Linked DNA regions of Homo sapiens: all the other regions are linked to region 4. Evidence: promoter capture Hi-C in 16 types of primary human blood cells and fetal thymus (Javierre and others, 2016). All regions are on one chromosome and are shown on one strand. Each heading gives the region's core, a stretch centred on a gene start or on the middle of the fragment in contact. The rest is flanking DNA. Distances are from core to core; before and after follow the strand shown.

The links. The method cuts DNA at HindIII sites, captures the fragments that hold promoters and counts their contacts. A CHiCAGO score of 5 or more calls a contact.
Region 1: the fragment with the promoter of KCNK5 here is called in contact with the fragment with the promoter of OARD1 in region 4 in 1 of 17 cell types (erythroblasts); the score reaches 5.2 in erythroblasts.
Region 2: a fragment that was not itself captured here is called in contact with the fragment with the promoter of OARD1 in region 4 in 1 of 17 cell types (endothelial precursors); the score reaches 5.3 in endothelial precursors.
Region 3: a fragment that was not itself captured here is called in contact with the fragment with the promoter of OARD1 in region 4 in 2 of 17 cell types (naive CD4 T cells and total CD8 T cells); the score reaches 9.1 in naive CD4 T cells.
Region 5: a contact is called between a fragment that was not itself captured here and the fragment with the promoter of OARD1 in region 4, in 3 of 17 cell types (total B cells, megakaryocytes and naive B cells). The highest score is 7.1, in total B cells.

Annotation. Positions count from the first base shown.
Region 1 is chr6:39,228,070-39,230,769 of GRCh38, reverse strand. It overlaps KCNK5 (potassium two pore domain channel subfamily K member 5), which reads left to right and starts at 1,295. Exons shown (of 5, transcript NM_003740.4): 1 at 1,295-1,844. The coding sequence starts at 1,659. RefSeq lists an enhancer at 1-717 and silencers at 1,005-1,354, 1,455-1,534, 2,548-2,617. The HindIII fragment of the contact is 7,595 bases long and covers 1-2,700 here.
Region 2 is chr6:39,884,320-39,887,019 of GRCh38, reverse strand. All of the region lies in intron 15 of DAAM2 (dishevelled associated activator of morphogenesis 2), which reads right to left. Among named protein-coding and RNA genes, the nearest start is that of DAAM2-AS1, 12 kb to the left of the region's middle. The HindIII fragment of the contact is 5,859 bases long and covers 1-2,700 here.
Region 3 is chr6:39,109,224-39,111,923 of GRCh38, reverse strand. All of the region lies in intron 1 of SAYSD1 (SAYSVFN motif domain containing 1), which reads left to right. It also overlaps the pseudogene ANKRD18EP. Among named protein-coding and RNA genes, the nearest start is that of SAYSD1, 4.6 kb to the left of the region's middle. The HindIII fragment of the contact is 1,560 bases long and covers 593-2,152 here.
Region 4 is chr6:41,070,985-41,073,684 of GRCh38, reverse strand. It overlaps OARD1 (O-acyl-ADP-ribose deacylase 1), which reads left to right and starts at 1,329. Exons shown (of 6, transcript NM_001329686.2): 1 at 1,329-1,449; 2 at 2,010-2,089; 3 at 2,409-2,553. The coding sequence starts at 2,051. It overlaps NFYA (nuclear transcription factor Y subunit alpha), which reads right to left and starts at 711. Exons shown (of 10, transcript NM_002505.5): 1 at 601-711. RefSeq lists a silencer at 11-640 and enhancers at 1,021-1,070, 1,101-1,310. The HindIII fragment of the contact is 4,776 bases long and covers 1-2,700 here.
Region 5 is chr6:39,340,201-39,342,900 of GRCh38, reverse strand. All of the region lies in intron 22 of KIF6 (kinesin family member 6), which reads left to right. It overlaps LOC105375047 (a long non-coding RNA gene), which reads right to left. Exons shown (of 3, transcript XR_926774.3): 3 at 200-262. Among named protein-coding and RNA genes, the nearest start is that of KCNK16, 19 kb to the right of the region's middle. The HindIII fragment of the contact is 1,310 bases long and covers 777-2,086 here.

The DNA.
Region 1 (2,700 bases), core at 46-2,545, 1.8 Mb after region 4:
TCATTGCACACATGGTTATTGAGTGTCTGCTATGTATGTAACAAGCACTGTGGATACATCATTACACAAGACAGATTCTCCATCTCCCCAGCAGACATTTCCGTGTGTGTGTGTGTGTGTGTGTGTGTGTGTGTGTGTCTGTGTGTGTGTGGCGGGGAGAGGGCACAATACAGAGTAAACAATAAATAAAGTTATATAATATAGCAGAGGGAATTTAGTACTAGGAAGGACATAAAGCCAACGAGGGAGATAAGGTGGCGGGGGTGGAATTTTAAATCAGCTGGAGCATATGTATGAAAGTGGGCCGGGCGCGGTGGCTCACGCCTGTAATCCCAGCACTTTGGGAGGCTGAGGCGGGCGGATCACCTGAGGTCAGGAATTGAGACCAGCCTGGCCAACACGGTGAAACCCCGTCTCTACTAAAAATACAAAAATTAGCTGGGCGTGATGGCGTGCGCCTGTAGTCCCAGCTTCTTGAGAGGCTGAGGCAGAAGAACTGCTTGAACTCGGGAGGCGGGGGTTGCAGTGAGCCGAGATAGTGCCACTGCACTCCAGCCTGGCGACAGAGTGAGACTCCGTCTGAAAGAAAAGAGGAAAGGAGAGGAAAGGAGAAGAGAAAAGAAAAGAGAAAAGAAAAAAAGAAAAGAGGCCAAGTGTTTCCCGTAGAGATACTGTGTATTGGGGGGGCGCACAGGGGTGCCACGAATTGAGCTGCCCACTCCTTCCAGATGCAGGGTTCTCACCCGGGTAGGTGAGAACGGGGTGAGGGGGAGGAATCACGCGTGGGTGGCTGGATTAGTTCCTGATGTCCTCTGATTCCCTACAGCTTCTTCAGCCCCGTTCTAACCCCCTTCCTCAGGCTTACAAGAAAGTGTGTGGAAGAGAGACACGGAGAGACTGAGCATTAGACTTTTTTGGAAGAAACATCAGTAAATGAAAATGGAATTACAATAAAAATAACAAAAGCAATAAACTCCTGACCTCAGTCACAATCATTTTAGTTAACACGCCAGTCCTAATAACAAACACGAGTCCCTGAGACCGCAACCCCTCGGGCACCGCAGGGCGTGCAGGTCTGGGCGGGCGGCGCAGCCTCCCCTGGCGGCTGACCCTGGGAGCGCGGGGAGCGCCAAGCCTCTTCTAGCGCTCACCTCGCGCTCACTCCTGCGCTCGCCGGGCTGCTTGTGCGGGGAAGGGGCGGGGCCCGCCTGGGCTCCTCCCCGGTCGGAGCCCGGAGCAAGGGGGCAGAGCGCGCCGGGCGCTGGTTAAAGAGGCGTGCGGAGGCGGGCGCGGCGCATACTGCTAGTGGCGCGCGGAGGAGCGACGCGTGGAGAAGCGGCCCACGTGTCTGCCCAGAGTCAAGTCCTGTGTTCTTCCCGCTCCTTACGCATCCGCGGTCCAGGGCGCCCTTTCAGCCCCGCTGGTGTTCGCCCACCCCGGGCCGCGTGAGTGGGGCCCCACGCAGCTCCCCGCACTCCGTGGGCCAACTTGGCCAAGCAACTCTGTCCGGGGAGCGGTGCTTGCGGGGGGTGAGTACCGGGCACTGCGCATGCGGAGCTCCAAATTCAAACAGCTGTTTTCAGAGGCTGGAGGGCGGGCGGACTGGTAGCAGCTGGGGCTAGGAGAGGCTTTCTCTAGGAGGCGGCCGCTCGGGAGCCATGGTGGACCGGGGCCCTCTGCTCACCTCGGCCATCATCTTCTACCTGGCCATCGGGGCGGCGATCTTCGAAGTGCTGGAGGAGCCACACTGGAAGGAGGCCAAGAAAAACTACTACACACAGAAGCTGCATCTGCTCAAGGAGTTCCCGTGCCTGGGTCAGGAGGGCCTGGACAAGATCCTAGAGGTCAGTCGCCGCCTGTACCCCCATATACATCTGAAGCTGGCTTGAGCTTTAGGGGGCGCTGAAAGGAAGACCCCTTCACAGCTTTGGGTGACCCTCAGTCCCTGTGGAAGGTCCAGGGGGTGATGAGAGAGCGTGTCTCATCATGGGTCAGGCTTCGAGGATCTGTCGCTCACCCGAGGGACACAGGGGTCCCCCAGGCGCGGAGACTCTTTGGAACTTAGTTTGGCCGGAGACAAATTGGAGTTGATTCCCGGGTGAACTAGGCTCCACGGTGTTTCAGTGTGGGTGTGACGGTACCTCCCTCCTTGGGAAGAGGCTGTGGGACGGATAAAGGCGTTTATCTTTCCCTGGAGACGCTCCCGGAGTCTGGGAGCCAAGCCTGGTGCCATCCCCTCGTGTCTCCACCTCCCCGCTCCAGGGCCAGTGCCACGCCTGCCAGGCTTTTCTTAAGGAACGTGAACCCGGCAGAGTGGCGGGAGGGTCCCTCAGCCCGAGCCTGGGCAAAATCTTCCGCCCCCAGCAGAGTTCCGGAGAGGAGCTGGAGGCTCTGTGGGGCCCGAACCCACGGGATGAGGGCTGGTGCCTGGAATGCTGGGGACGCGCTCAGGCTTCCGGGAAGGCTTATCTCGCGGAGACATCCTTCAAGGGCTTGGAGTAAAACTTTGTGAAAGTAGCAGGTTGCACAAACGAATAATACCCGCGTAGTCCCTTTATGATGGGGGAGGAGAGTGTGTGCGGAATTGGGGTGGGTGGGGGACTTCCCTCCGTGCTGACATTGGGAACCGCTTATTTTCTGGTGCACAGCCCGATGGGTGGCATTGACCTCACTTTGGATAAACGGGCTGCCTATCCTGGC
Region 2 (2,700 bases), core at 17-2,516, 1.2 Mb after region 4:
TGACTCCTAGGGACTTCAGGCACAGCCCAAGATGCCCAGGGTAGAGAGCATCCACAAGTTCAGAGGTATGGAAACTGAAGCAGAACTCTCTCCTCTGAGTCCCAGCAGGCAGATTCTGGAGAAATCATTGATCCCGCCCCACTCCTTCTCTTGGGCCCCTGGCGAGGTAGACAGGAGGCTGTCTAGTGTGCTGTTCTTCCTCTGGGAGGTCCCTCTTGCACAACTTCAGGGGCCGCCTTGCATGGTTATCTTTGTGAATTGTGTCGTGCCTACCCTGTGTGTCCTTACAGGAAAGGCTCTCCTTTGGCCTGGTGGGTAAGACAGTAGACCTAGAAGCCTTCTCCTCATTCCAGGAGACATTGACCTCCACTGCTGCCAGGGGTCTATTTGATTACCTCCCTCTGCTACATTTCTTCTTTCTCTTTGGGGGCCCTCTCCCATACCACCCTGTATGAATGGGGAATAAGGTAGAAAGTGGAATGGACAAGTCCTCTCTGTCAGGCCCAGTACAGAGCAGCAGCCCGGGACAGCAGTTAAAAGTTGGAGTGGTCAGAGCCCCGAGAGTAACTCACCTGCTGAGAAGGATTAGTTATCAGCTCCTAGGCAGCAGCCACAGCCAACAGAGAATTAAACATGCACAACATTAGCCAAGACATTTGGGGACCCAGAAATAGCATGACAGACACAGGGATCCCTCAGCATCTACACTGTCCACTTCATCCCAGTGAGACCCATGGTTGTAGACAGGCACCCATAAGTGGCACTAGACAGGAGCTGCTTCTAGCAGACATGCACTCACGGAGAAGCCAAACGAAGCGGAGATCAGGCAGCTCCTCCCATCTGCCTAGTGCGACCACCACTCCCCAGTTAGGGCAGACCAAACCCCTGAGTTCTCCCACCCCAGGCTTTGCTGCCTGTTCTTCCTTTTCCTCTGCTGAAAACCTGCAGAGAGGGTGGAGGACATTCCTCCATCCTGGGATGAGTTCACCTTTCTAAATAGAGGAGGAGTCACAAATGAACTCGATCTGGAAGCTCCAGAAAGTTGTGTTTACTGAGGCAGAGAAAAGCAAGTGCCCTTGAATTTGCTCACTGCCCCTCATCTGTCCTTTGATGTGCAAGGGGAACTGAAGAGGCACAGCACGCACCTCTGTTCTCCCTGACGCCGATGGAGTGGAAGCTACTGACTCAAAACTCGCATGGGGCACAGAGAAGACCATGACTCCCAGGACCTCCCCTGCCCCACAACCAACTGAGAGAAGAGGCAACAAGGTTAATACGGCCTCCGGGATCTCTCCAGTCCTGCTGCTGGGATTTCAGTCCCAGAGACTAGACGGCCCACTGAGTGAGGGGAGGCAGGTGATTGGACTGTGTGGGCTCAGAGAGGTGAGGGGGACAGGACAGGGGGTCTTTCAGTCTTAACTCTTCTCAACTCACCAAGCTGGGAGGCCCCAGACCCAGTTTGTACAAAATCCATAACCTTCTTTCCTGACTGGCCCCATCCCAGCCTCACCTCAGGGCCCTGGAGCCTGAGTAGGCTGGGCCAGAGTCCTGTCCTGCAGAAAGACTCTCAAATGAGGAGGTGGCCTGCGATCACCAAGCCTGGTATGCTTGCCACACACTCCTCTGTCCTCAACCCCACTCGTGGAGAATTGGCTCCCAGGAGCCAGTGCTCAAAGAGTTCCTTTCAGCTCCAGCAGCCTTAGCTGCCAGCCTGACATGGGCATGGGGTTAAAAATGCCTCCTGGAATTAGGAGTAGAGAATCCGATGCTGTGGGCACCCACATTTAAATTAAATAAGCAATCATCTGGCCAGAGCCCTAGGAGCGGCTGCATGTGTCCTCAGTCATCCACAGATCAGGGCTGGGCAGAAAGTGAGCTAGGGCAACCTCTCCAGCTCAGTGGGGAGCCAGGCCACAACAGCCAGCCATTGCCAGGACCCACTCATTGGCACCCAGGGAAACCCTCAAGACTGAGATCCCAGGCTAAGTAAAGAAAACAAGGAAGATGGTAGCCCAGCCCCAAGAGGGAGAAGTCCCTCTGGGGCGGGCCAGAGATAAAGCAATTCCCTGAGGCTTCTAAGCTGGTCATTCCCCAAATGGACTTAGAGGGAAGGCCCCTAGCTGCTAGTTACCAGGCGGATTCCTGGGCCCCAACTCATCTCCCGAATCACATTCCAGGATGAGGTCTGAGAAGCAACCCTTTTGGCAGTCCCCACAGATACTCGGCACAGTTTCAGATTCCCACCTCAGGAACACCCTGCGCTCTGCCACCAACTCACCCCCTACTTTCTCTGTGACTGGAAGACCAGACTGCTGGCAGCCACCTGCACATAGAGCCTTGAGAGCAATATCCAAGGCTTCCCCGGGCCTTCCCAGGCCCAGGCCCAGGCCCAGCCCCAGCCTCAGCCTCAGCCTCAGCCCCCTGAGTGACATGGAGCAGCACCTTCTGCCTTCCTTGCAAGGCAACATCCCCTGCTCGGTCTCATAGAGGTGTTGACAGACAAAATGTGGTGGAAAAGTGGTTTGAGAAGTTATTATGCCTTCTAAGCCTAGTCCCTAAATCCTGGGCCAAAGACAGCAAGGGTCCACAGTGGTCAGGCCTTGCGACTCTACCTCCGATGCTCCAGGATGGAAGAGAGAAATGGACAAAACACCATTTCAATACTTGGTGTATAAATATGAACCATAATACAAGCATATT
Region 3 (2,700 bases), core at 123-2,622, 2.0 Mb after region 4:
TTCTTCTAAGCTGCAAACTGTAGAGTTCCTGTTTCCATTCTACTTTTTGATATTGAACTGTGACTTCGTTTCTTGTGTTTTGGATAGCTCCTTCAGTACACTAAACTCAGTTTTCATATTTCTTATTGTCTAGTGTAAGTTGTTCACAGATAATTTTTTTTAAGGTCCAGTGACTTTTCACATGAAAGAAATGCATTCTGGACTTCCATTAGGATACGAGAATCATTACAATCCATTCCATATTGCTTAATGAGCATCATAAACTTCTTACAATGAGGGTAAGGTTTCTCATGATCCTCTGAAGCTGTTTCAGAGGGCCGAGTTAAGTCATCAGGTTCATCTCTAAATGAGTTTGCTTTTTGACCTTTTTCTTTTCATTTGACATTTTCTTTGCAGGCCTAGCATACTCTTTGTTCTCCTTCCTAGGAAATCGCTGATGGTAAGTTTTTCCACTCTTTCTTTGTTGAATTAATTTATCATCATCGTCAGCAGATGTACTATCATATACGTTTTTTTGATACTTTTTTTTTTTAACTTTCGTGCTTCTTTCTAGCTTCTTCAACCTGTGGCTGTTTATTTTCACTTTCAAGCTTTTCCTGTTCTTCCTCTGATGTCACTTGTACTTCTTGTTCTGCTTTGGATGTTTGTTCGTTCTTCCTTTCTATTGCTTTCTTCACAACAGAATCTTTCATTTCCATGGTAGGCTTTAGGGAAGGATGTTTTTCAGGAGGCCCTTCTCCCTTTCCATTTACTATATATTTTTTCCTTTTTTATATGAAGGTCCAAGTAAAGACTTTGAAACACTCTCAGGGATACACTGCTTGGTAGTAAAAGTCAAGTCTTCATCATCTGGTTTAGGCCATGAGTCAACACACAGTTTTTTTTTAAATACTGAATGCAGATGCTTCAGAACTCCCAGAATCTTTTGCACTTGCTCCTCCTGTTTTCAAACTTGCATTCTTCTTGGATGCTTCTTCTGGGTTGTCATTTTGAAGACCATTTTCAAGTATCTTTTTTTTTTAATGTTGCAAAATTTGTTGTGAGTGCTTGTCAGACCACCAGAAATAGCATAATCTGCAGTCTGTTCATACATACTCTTGAGTAAAGACAATATTTTGTTGAAGAAGAATGCTAACTATACCTGACAAGCCATAATGTACAACAGGCATGAGAGCTGTTCTTTTCAACCTATCAACAGCATGTACATTTGCTTGTTTCTTCACTAAAATTCCACCTTTTGCTGTGTTTTGCAAACTATAGCAAGTAAAAGTGGTGTGTTTGCATCCTTGTTCAGCACTTCAGTATCCTTGTTCAGCACTTCAGTATTCACATGGTGTGAGGGCAGTTTTTCTGCCAGTAGTGTATTCTCATTATACACAGCATAGTGTAGTGCATTGTTGCTATAGACATCCATAAGATCTGGGTTGGTGCCACATTCTAGCAGAATGATGACACAAATCTCTTCTTGGCAATGTACAGCCTTCATCAAAGGCATCCTGTTTCATTTGTCACCAATGTCAGTCTGGCACTTTCAGTTCACCTGGAGAGTGACCACTTCCACATGGCCATTGGCACAGGCCAAATGTAAAGCAGTCGTGTTCATCCACAGATGAAGGAATACAGAAACTCCAGGATATTTGCACAATGGAATACTCTTCAGCCATCAAACTTTAGGACATCACCCCACTTCCAGCAACGTGGAGAGAGACCTGTTCATCCACAGATGAAGGGATACAGAAACTGTAGTATTCATTCACAATGGAATACCCTTCAGCTGTGCACATATACTGAAATCATATCACCTGGAGCCACACAGTTGAACCTGTTCATCCCTTGATGAAGGGATGACAAAACTGAAATATATATCCAGAATGGAATACCCTTCCACGACAGAAGTGGATGAAATCCTGTCATTTGCAGCCATGTGGAGAAACCTGTTCATCCGCAGATGAAGGGATAAAGAAACTGTAGTATATATACACAAATGGAATACTCTTCATCCAGAAAAATGTAATGAAATTACATCATTTGCAGCCACACTGTTGAACCTAGAGGACATCATGGTAAATGACCTGTCCTGTCCACCCACAGCTGAAGGGATAAAGAAACCACCATACAGATACACTATGGAATATGCTTCAGCCATAAAGCTTTGGGAAATCCTGTCATCCACAGCCATGTGGAGAAACCCAAGAAACCCAGAGGATATTAGGTCCAAGGAAATGAGCCTGGTAGAGGAAGTCCCACACCTTTTAATCTCAGGCATGGAGATTCCAAAAACTTTATCTCCTGTCCATCTACAGATGAAGGGATCAAGAAACTGTAATGTATATGCACAAAGAATACTCTTTGGCCATCAAAATAACTAAACCATGTCATTTGGAGCAACAAAGCCACTGCGGCCTCCATTTGGGCCAAGCTCTGACTGCAATGATGCCTCTGCCCCGACCCGGGCCTCGCTGTGACTGACAATGCCGCTGCATCTTTTCAGCAGTCATTGATGAGGAAGTATCTACATCCTCCTTCCCACTACCAGATTTTGCTTGGAGAAAAGCAGTTTCCTGAAATAATTCTGTGACGAGCTTCTTCCACATTAGGACAAAAATGCTGGTAACTTTTAAAAATTCCTACAGAAACCTCCTGCTTCCCTCTCCAGCCATATCCCAGGCAAGCCCCCAGCACACCACCCTGCCCCAGAAC
Region 4 (2,700 bases), core at 80-2,579:
CCCGTTGCCAGCCGCACACGGGACCCCGCGGCCGCGGCGCGCACCCTCCCCAGGCCTCCCTCCCGACCTAGAGGGGCTGCAGATAAGACAGACCCGGCTCGCTGGGAGCGGGGAGCGGGGGGCGCGGGCCCCGGGGAGGCTTCCTGTCCCAAGGGCCGGAGAGTGGAGAGTGCAAGGGCAGGTTTAAGTTTGCGGCCAGAACGACCAGGAGGAAATCGCCGAGGCCCAGGGCGCGCATGTGTCCCCTAGTGTAGGGCCATTCGTGGCCCCAGGCCTGGGGCCTGAGAACCTGGGCCTGAGTCGGGGAACAGGGACGCATTCCCAACTGGCCCTGGCACCCTGCGAGGGTCGGAGCCCCGAGGTGCCTGCTCCCCGAGGCGCCATCCCCGCGCGGGGCGGCCCCTGCAGGCCTCGGCCGGGAGTGCCCCGAGGCGCTCGCAGGCCCCGGGCCGGGGCCGCTGGCCGCCCGGCTCGGCTAGGCTCAGCTCGACTCCCCGGGCTCGACGGGCGCCTGGGCCTCTCCTGAGTGGTCAGCGAGACCCGCCAATCGGGGCGCTGGGGCCGGCTCTGGGCCGCTGGATATTGGCTCCTCACACTCACCGTGCCTCGCTCCCCCGGTTCGCTGCCCGCGCTGATTGGCTCCAGTACCGGACTCCGAAACCCAATCAGAGGCTCCAGCCGCCGCTGCCGCCGCCACTGCCGCTGCCTAGCAAAATGGCGAACCCGAACAAAGGGGAATCGGGCCTCCCTCCAACCGCCTCCGCGCAGGCGCCTCTGAGGCCACGCCCACTAACTCCAGTTCAGGGATCGCCCCACCCCTTCGGAGGAGCAACGCGCAGGCGTTCCCTGAAGCCACGCCCACCTTCCCGCTTTGACACCACCCCCAGTGAAAGGAATACGCAGGCGCTTTCCAGACGCGCCAGACCCTTCAACTCAAAACGCTGCCTTGAGCTTAGTACTACGCAGGCGCTAACTAGCCCCTTTGCCAGCTGCCCACCCCTTTCCAAGTGGCCACTAGGACACACCCCTGCGGCTAATGCGCAAGCGCCACTTTTCCCGACTCGTGGGGCAGTTTCGTTACGCATGCGCGGGCGGCGGCGGGAAACCACGGAATTTACTGCCGGAAGTTCGGCGGCCTTCGCCAAAGAGTGTGGGCTCGGCTAGCAAGCTAGAGGGGCTCGTTTCCGCCCCGCTACCGGGCGGGGGCGGCCATCTTAGATGCGTGCAATTAAGGGCTTTGGCGGGATTGGCTCCGCGTTTGGGCTGGTCCGCTGCTCCCCACCTACCAGGGTCGGATCCGGAGCCCTTCCCCGCGGGGCGGGGACCTCCAAACAACCGACTCCTTTCCAGGTGAAGGGTGACTTGGGTACGTTGGGGCTTTGAGCGAGCCTCCCCGCACCCTCCCATAGGACCCCAGGACAGACTGCGTCCTCGCTGACCCGCCCTAGGGTAGGAGACAGAGAATGGGAGGCTTCAATAGACTCTTTCCTTCTCCCACGCACCCCCCAAAAAAGTGGGGGGTGAACGTTCCTTGAGAGGCCGCCTTCCTTTCCCCACGCCTGGGGCTCAGCACGCCAGTACCCTGTACACTCTGTGGTTGCGGCTTAACGGGACTGTGGCCAAGTCCCTTCTGTTTTCTTCTAAGCCAGACCCACTGGGGAAATACTTTTGCGTCGTGCAGAGAAAAGGAGACCGTCCTAAATCGGCCTTGCTCCGGAGTGGCCCTGGAGAAAGGAGGAGGCGTGTCTTAGGGATGGGCTTTGCTTCCGCTGACGGAGCGGGGCGCTCCAGGAAAGCACGAAATGAGAGCGGGTCGAGACAGCCTCCGAACCTAAGCGTTCTTCCTCTTTGCCCCAGAAGGGTTTTGTATTACGTCCCAGGGGCCGAACAAACTCACATTCATCGATAAACGTTGGGGAAAAAAGCCTATTAAGTGGTTGTACAGGGCAATCAGAATATTATATACTAAGGCTGCCTAAGCATTTTTACTTCCTTTTCCCTTCTCATAGCTGAAGAAACACTTAAATTCTGGAAATAGCGACTCAGTATCATGGCCAGCAGCCTTAATGAAGATCCAGAAGGAAGCAGAGTGCGTAACAACTATTGACTTATTGGTGAACTGAAATTCGTAATAATGGAGGTCAAAAGCATAAACACTTTTTAATTAAATTAATGATTGCATTATCTTTTTTTCTCTCTAGCTGATTTACTTTAAAAAGGCTCAAAATTCTAGGCAGGGATCATCCATTACTTTCCTTTTACACATGCTGTAATTGGTTTGGCTTTAAATCAGATTGGAGGAAGGGGTGCCGGGAGAGGTAGTCGTGGGGGACACAAAATACAGAAAAATAGCTTAGTATTTTACTGTATCTAATAAAACATTGTCTTTTCCTTTGCACATTTTTTAGATCACTTATGTGAAAGGAGACCTTTTTGCATGCCCGAAAACAGACTCTTTAGCCCACTGTATCAGTGAGGATTGTCGCATGGGCGCTGGGATAGCTGTCCTCTTTAAGAAGAAATTTGGAGGGGTGCAAGAACTTTTAAATCAACGTGAGTTTTGGAAACCACTTACCTGGTTTGCCCTGGCTAGAGCACCTTTTAATCTGTTACACTTTAATAAAATATGCGTGTAAAGAGGGGATTCCTAAGAACCAAATGTTTTTAAGATTTTCCTCCCCAAGAATGGCCTCTAGTTTA
Region 5 (2,700 bases), core at 182-2,681, 1.7 Mb after region 4:
ATGCCTGCCCTGTGGCGCCTGCACTCAGCTTCTCCACCAGCCGTGTGCAGTTTGGGCAGGAAGAGGTTTGTGCATGGATGGAGCGCCGCAACTGAGAGCCGGCCTTGGTCCTGTACTCGCCTTGCTTGGCCGCCAGCCTGCTTATTTACTATCCTCTCTTCACCACCAGGACCAGCAGCCTCAGCAACACTGTCAGGTCCTTTCTTAAGCCTGAGACAGCCCCACCTCTGCTGTGATCTTGTCTCATTCTCAGTTTCCTTGTCTAAAAATAAAAAAAAATAAAAAAAAATAAAAAAAAATAAAAAACTGGATTCAGTGATCTCCAAGTCCCCATCTATGCCCCAAATACTCTGATGATAGGTATCAGGCACTGAACAGCAATGAACAGCCAATCAGTCAGCAAACACTGTATATGTTGGGTGCCTTCTTATGCCAGGCACTACTACTAGTGCTGGTGCTACAGCAGAGAACAAGACAGAACCCAGCACGTGAGAAACTGACATTCTAGGGGGAGGAAGGAGACAGACAATGAACACGTCGACAAATACGTAAGATTGTTTGAGGGGATAATAAGTGCTATGAAATAGCTAAACTATGTAATGTTGTAGACAGTAACTGGGAAGACTGCTTTTAGCTGGGTAGGTTGGGGAGGCCTTGCTGGAGAAGATAACTTTAAACTGACAGCTGCATCATGAGAATGGAGCAGCTACGCCGCGTTCTGGGAATGCACAGTCCTAGCAGACAGAGCGGAAAGCGAGAAGCCTGAAGGGGAAGCTTTGCTTGGCCACAGGGTGGGAAGGAAGCTAGAGTGGCTGGAGGGCAGGGAGCAAGAGCACAAGGGCCAAGTCACACCAGCCTTATGCACAGGGGAAAGAGATTTGGATTTTATTCTGGATAGAGTGGAAGCCCACTGAATAATTTTAACCATGGAGTGATATGATGTGATTGATGCTTTAAAAAGCTCACTTTGTCTGTCACATGTAGTGTAGATTGTAGGGGCCAAGGGTAGACCAGTTACCAGGCTACCATGAAAGTGCCAGCAAGGGATGATTGTGGCTTGGACTCACCAGTAGACCAAATATGAGATGCAAGAGAAAGAGGAGAGTCAGGGCACCTCCTGGGCTTTTGATCTGAGCAGCGAAGAGAATGGCAGTGCCATTTACTGAAATGAGAAAGGCAGGGAGGCATGACCATCAGAGGCAAGGAGCTGGAGGGATGGAGAGTTCTGGCTGCCCTTTTTGAAGTTTCAGATGACATTTGATGTCCAAGAGGAGGTGTCGAGTAGACAGGTGAGCATCAGTGGAGCTCAGAGAGAAAGTCTAAGCTAGAAAAAGAAATATGCAAGTCATCATGTCTGGTTGGTGTCTGAAGCCACAGGACTGAGTACAATGTCCTCTGAAGACCAGAGATGGAGGTATTCAAATTGCTGAGAACAGCCCCCTGGGGTTCTCCAACAGTTGCGGAGAGAGAGGAAGCAGAGATGCTGAGAAGGCACTGCCAGGGTGCGAAAAGGAACAGCAGATAAGTGGGTATGGCCTCAGGCACAAGCTGGAGAAGCACAAGCTGGAGAAGCACAAGCTCCAAGGGGAGACGGGCCAGTAGAGTGTGGCAGGATGGAATGTGGACCACTGGCCATTTTGCATGTCAGGGTGATCATGGACAAGCACCATTTAGCCAGGGGACTGGGAGTGGCTGGGGAGAGGGTGGAAGGGAAAGAGGCTGAGGCAGTGAGCAGATACAACCCCTCCAGGGGGTTGAGCAGTGACAGGAGCAGAGAACTGGGCTGGAGCTAAAGGGAAGCAGGAGCCCAGAGGGATGCTTTAAGACATGCTCACGTGCTGAAACATGCATAGAGAGGGAAACTGATGCTGTGGTGGGAGAGGGGAGCAGAGCTGCAGGAAAAACTTCCTTGAGAAAGTAGAGGGGACAGTGTGTGGGGCACAAGTGGAGGAAGGCTTGGATACGCAGGATATCCTTTGAGCTGAGATATCCCTTCCCCTGTAACAAATCCATAGAAACCAACCATCATTCCTCCCCTCAAGAAGCCTACAAGCAAGCAATATCTTTAAGTTACATTCACTAAGCTTTTGTACATATAAGAGATGTGATCATCTAACTCTCTCCAAACAGAAGAGGCGGAAGTCCAGGTCCCTGTCAGAGTGGTGTCCTCCTGCTAACACTGTCCCCAGGCAGTGCAGAGAGCTGGATTGAAGGGCAGGCACTTTTATTAAAATATGTATGGCAAACTACCATTTATAAATGTTTTCATTTTTATTGTTTCATTTGATGCTCTTAACGCTCCTGTAAGGCATGCAGGGCCAAGATTATGATCCCCTGTGGACAGGTGAGGAAAGGAAACTGAGGCACACAGAGGTTGTATCACTTGCCCAAGGTTACACAGCTGATAAATGGCAGAGCCAGCATAACCCAGGTTTTCTGCTCTCTCCCCACTGGGCCACACTGTCTTGAAAAGCTGCAACTACCAAGATATGCCCACTCTGCTGTCAGGAGTTCTCTCGGCCTCAGGAACAGGAACCAGCATTGACGAGGGGAGTGACCGCAGCCTCTACCCACCCTGCAGCTGGGGAGCTTTGCTCTCCAAATAAACAGCAGCCTGGAAGTAATTCATCAAAGCAAACAAAACTTCCACAGCTCAATTTTTATTCCGAAAGGAAGAATATTCATTCTGGCTTTTCAGTG